Regions from separate parts of the Homo sapiens genome. Here region 1 is linked to region 2. Evidence: promoter capture Hi-C in 16 types of primary human blood cells and fetal thymus (Javierre and others, 2016). All regions are on one chromosome and are shown on one strand. Each heading gives the region's core, a stretch centred on a gene start or on the middle of the fragment in contact. The rest is flanking DNA. Distances are from core to core; before and after follow the strand shown. Region 1 holds the start of SYNPO2L (synaptopodin 2 like). Region 2 holds the start of ANXA7 (annexin A7).

Region 1 (4,581 bases), core at 705-3,204, 240 kb after region 2:
GACAGGCAATGGGAGCCCTGGATTAGGGGAAGAGAAGAGGAGAGAGGTCCATACCGCTGCACAGTGAGGACAAGCTGATTTCCTGAGGCATCGATGAGGCTCATGGCACTGGCATGGGAGAGGTTGGTGCAAGAGACCCCATTGATTGCCAAGAGCTGGTCCCTCTCTCGGAGTCCTGCTCTGCCAGCCTGGCTCCGTCTTCGAATCTGAGATGTTGAAGGAGACACTGTAGGTAAGAGGGGGCTCCAAAGGGAATAGAATGAAAGGAAAAGATGGGAAGGACCCACAGGAGGGGATTTTACTTTGCAGGGTAAGAAGGGTGGGGAGATGCATGGAAGTGGCTGCAGTTGAAGTGGCCTGTCTAGAGGGAAGAAAGTATACAGACTGGAGAAAGAAATACATCATATGGTGGGAAATAGGGTAACCATTGAATGAAAGAGGCTTGGGAAGAACTGCATGGGGTAGGTAACTAGAAATGGTGGTTATTGGCTGGGTGCAGTGGCTCACGCCTGTAAGCCCAGTGCTTTGGGAGGCCTAGGTGGGTGGATCACTTGAGATCAGGAGTTTGAGACCAGCCTGGCCAATGGGTGAAACGCTGTCTCTACTAAAAGTACAAAAATCAGCTGGCCGTGGTGGTGTGCGCCTGTAATCCCAGATACTTGGGAGGCTGAGGCAGGAGAATTGCTTGAACCCAGGAAGCAGAGGTTGCAGTGAGCCATCATGTCACTGCACTCCAGCCTGGGCAACAGAGTAAGACTCTGTCGCAAAAAAAAAGAAAAGAAAAAAAACGGAAAGAAATGGTGATTATCTCCACAAGCTTTTTCTCCAAGGGCAATATCTATATTGGCTGGTAATTCTCTACTAGGCCTTGTAACCCCAGGCGCCATTACACAGTCAAGATTTTAGAACAGTACTCCAGGTTGGAGGGAGTCCAGCGGTATTCTGGGAGATTGTGATTATTTGGGTATATGTGTGCCATGTATACACACAAATGTATATATGCCAAAGTAATAATAGTAGTAGTGGCTACCATTTATTGAGTTCTTACTAAGTGTTGGGCACTGTGCTACATGTATTATTGCATTTAATCCTTAGAATGGTTCCATGAAGTAGGTACAGGTACTATTATTACCCACATTTTACAGTTCGGAAAACTAAGCCTGTAGGGTGAAACCAAAAGGATAATGACTTCATCTGTGAGGCCAGATCTTGCCATAACCCTCCTAGCACCTAAAAAAGTCTTGCCTAGTGAGAGAAAGGATCTGACCTAGGGAAAGAGCACTGAAGGCATGGGCAGGGCAGGGTGAGGCAGGGTAGGGCTGGGCTGGGCTAGGCTGTTCGAGGCAGTTTCAGTTCATCACATATCAGTTTAGTCAGAGAGAAATTAGAACCTTCCCCGTATTTCTGGAGTTTGGAGTAGAGGCACATACCCAAGAGAACAAACACTGGATGACCAGAGCTGGGCCTCTGATACCACAGTGCTGCAGGGAACTGAAGCAGAGCCTTTCCTTTTCCTCTGCTCCCTGGAAACCGCGAATTCTCTTTTCTAATAGACCCCCACAGGAAGCCTGTGGTCAGACGCTACTCCCACTATGAGACTTGAGCATACTTCCCTGCCCACCACCCACCCCATCTTCACAGCCTCCCACCCCCCCAACCCCCGCCATATGCCACCACACATCTCTTCCCAGGATCCCTTGGGTTCCCTTTCCCTGAAGCCTCATTTCAGGGGCTCTCCCTTACCTTAGACACCTGTAACGGTTTCCTCTGCTCGGCCCCCCCATGAAGTCGGAAGCCCCAGGGGGCTCCCCCTGATAGTGTGACCAGCACCTCCTCCTCAGCACCCATCGCTCAGCTTGGCCTATGGCCCCCGGAGTTTGAACAGTGTCCCCAGGAGAGAAGTTGAGGTGCTCGAACCCCGTCTGGGCTTCCTGTCCGGCTGTCCTGCTCCTGCTGCCCCAGGCCTCCCCCCCACACCACACACCACAGGCAGGCAACTTGGCCCTGGGATCATTACAGTCCAGCACACATGTCCCGTCAATCGCAGATGTGCTCAAAATAGATGCCGCTTGTACTCCCCTCCCTCCCCCTTCTGTGTTACTCCTAGAGCTAATTATAGTACAAACTTCTGCCCTCCATGTTCCCAATTCTCCTGCATGGGCCTTTTATTCAGGACTCAGAATACAAACTCTCTGGGCTCTATAACCAATGTACACCCTTTCAGGAACTGTGCCTTCTCTAATAGGACCATGGGCTAATCTCAACTGCTTTCCTCCAAAGACCCTTTCAAAGTGGCAGCAGCAGGGGCTTCAATTCCATAGCTGGCAAAGAATGGCTGGGCTTGCTCCAAGATCCCAGGAAAGAATGCACTCTCGCTATATAAATTTATCTGTTAATTAATAAATGGTGGGCCAGGCATGGTGGCTCACGCCTGTAATCCTAGCACTTTGGGAGGCCAAGGTGGGTGGATTGCTTGAGTCCAGGAATTTGAGACCAGCCTGGGCAACATCGTGAGATGGCCCCCCATCTCTATTTTCTTATTATTAAAAAAAGTTAAAAAAAAAAACCAAAAAACTATAGGCTGGGCACGGTGGCTCACACCTGTAAACCCAGCACTTTGGGACCAAGGTGGGCGGATCACGAGGTCAGGAGATTGAGACCATCCTGGCTAACACGAGGAAACCCCGTCTCTACTACAAATACAAAAAATTAGCTGGGCTTGGTGGCAGACGCCTGTAGTCCCAGCTACTCTGGAGGCTGAGGCAGGAGAATGGCGTGAACCCGCGAGGCAGAGCTTGTGGTGAGCCGAGGTCGTGCCACTGCACTCCAGCCTGGGTGACAGAGCGAGACTCCGTCTCAAAAAAAAAAAAAAAACAAACAAACAAACAAAAAACTATAAAAAAACAAATTACCTATTGCAATACATACGTGGTCATGGAAAGGTGTGTAGGTGTGCATAAACATACCAACCCATGTTAATACAATCTCTACTTGTCTCTAGGTTTCCATTACGAGAATGTCTCTGTTACAAGGCATAACATTATGGTGCTATAACTGTGATTATCAAAGGCTACAGAGTTTCATAAAATAGCTGCCCACCTAGTGTATGCTAAATACCGTTTGCCTTGGCATATGCCTCTATGTCCTAGAAACACTTGGGCTGGGTGCAGTGGCTCATGCCTATAATCCCAGCACTTTGAGAGGCTGAGGCAGGTGGATTGCTTGAGCCCAGGAGTTCAAGACCAGCCTGGATAACATGGTGAGACCCTGTTTCTACAAAAAAATACAAAAAAATTTAGCCAGGCCTGCCTGGTCACATGCTCCTATAGTCCCAGCTACTTGGGATATTGACGTGGGAGGGTTGCTTGAGCCCTGGAGGTCGAAGCTGCAGTGAGTCGTGATCCTGCCACTGCACTGTAGCCTGGGTGACATAGTGAGACCCTGTCTCCAAAAAAAAAAAAGAAAAAGGGGAGAAAACATTGGAGGCAACAGAGGGAGACCTGATCTCCAAGAAGAAAATAGTTGGGATTTTGGGGTCAGAAGAATTGAACTTGGGTTCTTTTTTTTGAGATGGAGTCTCGCCCTGTCGCCCAGGCTGGAGTGCAATGGAGATCTTGGCTCACTGCCACCTCTGCTTCCCAGGTTCAAACAATTCTCCTGCCTCAGCCCCCTGAGTAGCTGGGGCTACAGGCATGTGCCACCACACTTAGTTAGCTTTTTGTATTTTTAGTAGAGACGGGGTTTCGCCATGTTGGCCAGGCTGGTCTCAAACTCCTGACCTCGTGATCCGCCCATCTCAGCTTCCCAAAGTGCTGGGATTACAGGTGAAAGCCACTGCACCCGGCCACCCCCTTTTTTTTTTTTAGACCGAGTTTCGCTCTTGTTGCCCAGGCTGGAGTGCAATGGCATGGTCTCAGCTTACTGCTACCTCCACCTCCCAGGTTCAAGCGATTCTCCCGTCTCAGCCTCCCAAGTAGCTGACACTACAGGCACCCGCCACCATGCCCGGCTAATTTTTGTATTTTTAGTAGAGACGGGGTTTCACCATTTTGGCCAGGCTGGTCTCGAACTCCTGACCTCAGGTGATCCGCCCACCTCGGCCTCCCAAAATGCTGGGATTACAGGCATGAGCCACCGTACCCAGCTTGAATTTGGGTTCCTCAATAACTTACTAGCTGTGTGACCTCAGGCAGGGCAGTCACTTGGCCTCACCAGTAAAAAGAGGATTTAGGCCAGGCTCGGTGGCTCACGCCTGTAATCCCAGCACATTGGGAGGCCAAGGTGGGTGGATCACCTGAGGTCAGGAGTTCAAGACCAGCCTGATCAACATGGAGAAACCCCGTCTCTATTAAAAATACAAAAATTAGCCGGGCATGGTGGCGGGTGCCTGTAGTGTCAGCTACTTGGGAGGCTGAGACGGGAGAATCGCTTGAACCTGGGAGGTGGAGGTAGCAGTAAGCTGAGATCACGCCATTGCACTCCAGCCTGGGCAACAAGAGCGAAACTCTGTCTCAAAAAAAAAAAAAAAAAAAAAGAGGATCTAAATATCTATTCATTCACTATTCAAACATTTATTGAGTG
Region 2 (4,212 bases), core at 530-3,029:
CCCGCCTAGGCCTCCCAAAGTGCTGGGATTACAGGCGACAGCCACTGCGCCCGGCCGAGACTTACTTTTCAATGTACTTTAGCCCTTTTAGAATTGTACATATATCATTTATTCAAGAGGCAGATTTTAAACGTTTTTGTAAAAAGCTAAATAACACCCAGAGTGACTCAAAAAATTTCTCAACTTTGCCCAAGTGAATAGTAAGTCTAGAGTTTTTTGGGTTTTTTTTTTTTTTGTGACAGAGTTTCTCTCTGCCGCCCAGGCTGGAGTGCAGTGGCGATCTTGGCTCACTGCAACCTCTGCCTCCCGGGTTCAAGCGACTCTCCTGCCTCAGCCTCCAGAGTAGCTGGGATTACAGGCGCGCGCCACCACGCCCAGCTAATTTTTGTATTTTTAAGTAGAGACGGGGTTTCACCGTGTTGGTCAAGCTGGTCTCAAACTCCTCCTGACCTCGTGAATCTCTCGCCTCGGCCTCCCAAAGTGCTAGGATTACAGGAGTGAGCCACCGCGCTCGGGCTTTTTTTTTTTTTTTTTTAAACATTCTCTGTTAGCAATCACTTTTAAAAGACTAGAAAATCATTTTTGGTTTTCCAAACCACCTCCACCCAGTGAGTCAGTTAGTAAAAGGGCTGGGTCTCACCGTTTCTCATTGATGGCATGAAGCCCAGGAACCCAAGAGGCAGCTGTTGCAAATTTATGGGGGAAAAAATACACGAAACAGGAAGGGTGACTGAAGATACGCGCAACAGCGAATACAATTTTGCAAAACCGGCTTCTAGGTATGGTAGGATCATTTAAATCCGTCAGTGATGTGGAGAAAGAACATGGAGGCATGGCTAGTCCTCTGCACGGACAGGTAGGTAGCCAACCACCAGTGAGGACTGAAAGACAGTCCTCACTGAAAAGGACTGAAAGTTTGCAGTGGCCAAAATTATCTCTTTTACCTATTCAGTGCTTGAAACTCTTTCCTTGCCTGGAAGGTAACTCATTACACTCATCATCTAATTCGGACACATTTAGCAGATTAGCTGGCCATCAGCTGGCAAAAATCAGGGCGTTTACGGCAGTCGGAAGACAACAGCGTCATGTCTGTCACTTTACGGTGGACATCAGCCATCTACCTCTGCACCTTGGTTTCCTTGCGCAGTGTTTGCACAGGATGAGCTAATTTCAACACAGATTTGCTGCTGGTCGGGGAACAGCAATCAAATCTGGAATGCTATTCTAGAATAGCTTCCAAGAACTGTAAACGAGAACCAGTGTACGACCTTGGCCTGGCGCATTCTGTCCTACGGTTCACTAAACACAGTAAAAATTTCCCCAAGTTTCCCTAAATTCGCTGTGTCACCGGAAAGTACAGCCACTACCAGCCAGACGGCTTTCAGCACTGCCCGTGCGTTTCCCTACTCAGCCTCCCGCGAGGCAGCTGGGCCACGCTCCGGCCTCAGCCCCTCCACCTGCCCGAGGGCGGGGCGCCACTGGTCCCTGGGATTTCCAAACGGACGGAAGGGCTTCCCGTAAGCCAGGCCGGCCGCCTCACCCACGCCACCCCAACACACCCCGGCCGGCAGCCCGGCTACGAGACGCGCAAACCGAGTCGCCGCCATCCGGGAGGCCCACACTGCCCTCCAGCCGCGCCCCACTAGCACCGGGACAGCAGCGCCCAGAGCTGGCCGAGGGCAAGACCACCGAGGCAGACGAGGTGGGAAAGGGAGGGGGGCGCCGCTCCTCACCTGACCCCAGCAGCAGCGTCACAGCCCAACCCGGTCTCCCGCAAGATGGAGCCGGGGGCGGGCCCAGGGTGGGCGGGGCGTCTCGCGAGCCCGTTAGGATCGCGGCTGCAGCCGGGAACACCCCCGGAGCCGGAGAGGGCGCTGCGGGGAGCGGGCTGTCCCTCAGTCCCGCCCCTAGGCGCCACCTGAGGGAAAAAGACTCTCCCTTCGGGTGGCCCAGCGGATTTTTAATCACATTTATCTGTCGCAAGGACCCTGCACCAATCCCTTTTAAGGCTGCCTCAAGTCACCTAGGAAGTTGCAGCAGTCCTGGGGGTATCCGGGGCCCCTTCAGTGGCGGGCGGTAGAGAAGGGCTGAGACTGGGAGGCTGGTGCAGCCTCCCCGCCTCTGAAATACCGTCCTCCAGGTATTTTCTGGGGACAAAGACGGCGTTTTTTGTTAGCCTCCTGTGAAAGTAATATTTGTGGGAAATCTTAGTTGGAACTGTAGATGAACTAATCAAAATCACTCCCGAAAGGAGTTGTTAGGTGATTTTAGGCTCCCCTCGTGGCTACAGCATTGAACACACATTAGCATTAAACATTTGAGGCAATTACGAGGGCTCAGATCAATATTTTAAACTCGTTAAGGAATTTATATTACAGAGAAAACCAATCAGCTACCTTTTAGAGTGGTAAAAGGTAGCTTCTGGGTGTGGTCCCCCGAACAGCAGCATCACCTGGAAACGTGTTAGTAACGCAGATTATTGAACTCCACCTTAGACCTACTGAATCAAACTCCCCGGGTGGTGCCCAGCAACCTGTTTTAACAAGCCTTCCAGGTGGTTCTGATGCACACTAAAGTTTGCACATCTGATGCACATCAACTTACTTATTCCTCTACACACTTTTCTACCCAAAAGCTTCCTCATGGGGGTGGAATAGAGTGGATTACGATTTTAAATGGGAAGAGCAAGCAAAATATACGTGGCTTCCAAATAGGTGTGTGGAGTGAAAAGTATTTGAGGCAGGTCATTGCCTCATTTAACAATGGTAGACAAAATGCACAACTCTCTAGGTGACCAGCATTAATTCCCCGGCGCCCAACAGTCTGTCTACCTGGAAAATAACAGGACTTTCTGTCCTACCTACCCCAGAGACCTCCAGGATTTAAGCCTTCCCTGAGAAGCCTACTCTGTTCATTCTAGAGTTCCCTTTGTGAGCTCGTTCCAAACCCTCCCTCTGCCTTAAATACCACCATAACAGGGTATTTGCCAAACCTCTTATTTCCAGCCCACTTTCCTGAGCTGCAGGAATAGTCCAATAGTCTACTACGACATTTGCCATTTCATCCTTTCAATTCATCCTTTCTTCCTGGCATAAAAGGCGTTACAGGATCGGAGACCCTTTCCTCCTGCTACCTCTGCTTAGAAAGCACTGCTCATCTTTTAACAATTACTCATCTTAATTAGACTTGTTTTCAAGGTTGCTCATCTCCGTCTTGCTCCAATAAACTCTTCCTGATCTTCTTTTTTGTACTCAACTGGACCATTTTAATTTTTTAATTTTTTTGGAGACAGAGTCTTGCTCTGTCACCCAGGCTGGAGTGCTGTGGTGCGATCTAGGCTCACTGCAACCTCTGCCTCCGGGGTTCAAGCGATTCTCATGCCTCAGCCTCCCGTGTAGCTGGGAGGCATGTCACCACGCCCAGCTAATTTTTTTGTATTTTTAGTACAGATGGGGTTTCGCCATGTTGGCCAGGCTGGTCTCGAACTCCTGGCCTCAAGCGATCCACCTGCCTCAGCCTCCCAAAGTGCTGGATGTATTACAGGCATGAGCCACCATACCTGGTCAACATCTCTGAAGGCCATGGTATGTTCCAGAGTTCATGTGAAATAAGAGCCATCATGCTTCTAATGTGAACATCCCACTGTATCAGAGTCTGGTTTTTTTTTGTTTGTTTTTGTAGTTTTGAGACAGGGTCTCATTCTGTTGCCCAGGCTGGAGTGCAATGGCACAATCTCAGCTCATTGCAACCTCTGCTTCCCAGGTTCAACGAATTCTCCTGCCTCAGCCTCCCAAGTAGCTGGGATTACAGGCATCCGCCACCACGCCCAGCTTTTTTTTTTTTTTTTTTTTTTTTTTTTTTTGAGACAGAGTCTCACTCTGTTGCCCAGGCTGGATGGAATGCAGTGGCACGATCTCGGCTCACTGCAAGCTCTGCCTCCTGGGTTCACGCCATTCTCCTGCCTCAGCCTCCCGAGTAGCTGGGACTACAGGTGTCTACCACCACGCCTGGCTAATTTTTTGTATTTTTAGTAGAGACAGGGTTTCACTGTGTTAGCCAGGATGGTCTCGATCTCCTGACCTCATGACCCACCCGCCTCAGCCTCCCAAAGTGCTAGGATTACAGGCATGAGCCACCACGTCCGGCCTAAATTTTTATATTTTTAATACAGACGGTGATTTGCCATGTTGCCCAGGCGAACTCCTGACCTCA

The links. The method cuts DNA at HindIII sites, captures the fragments that hold promoters and counts their contacts. A CHiCAGO score of 5 or more calls a contact.
Region 1: the fragment with the promoter of SYNPO2L here is called in contact with the fragment with the promoter of ANXA7 in region 2 in 2 of 17 cell types (erythroblasts and endothelial precursors); the score reaches 6.0 in erythroblasts.

Annotation. Positions count from the first base shown.
Region 1 is chr10:73,654,075-73,658,655 of GRCh38, forward strand. SYNPO2L (synaptopodin 2 like) reads right to left here and starts at 1,955. Exons shown (of 4, transcript NM_001114133.3): 1 at 1,744-1,955; 2 at 55-206. The coding sequence starts at 1,848. SYNPO2L-AS1 (SYNPO2L antisense RNA 1) reads left to right here. Exons shown (of 3, transcript NR_187519.1): 1 at 1-232. RefSeq lists a silencer at 1,897-2,191. The HindIII fragment of the contact is 8,470 bases long and covers 816-4,581 here.
Region 2 is chr10:73,412,279-73,416,490 of GRCh38, forward strand. It overlaps ANXA7 (annexin A7), which reads right to left and starts at 1,780. Exons shown (of 13, transcript NM_001156.5): 1 at 1,734-1,780. RefSeq lists enhancers at 794-913, 924-1,003 and a silencer at 1,404-1,963. The HindIII fragment of the contact is 4,736 bases long and covers 1-2,633 here.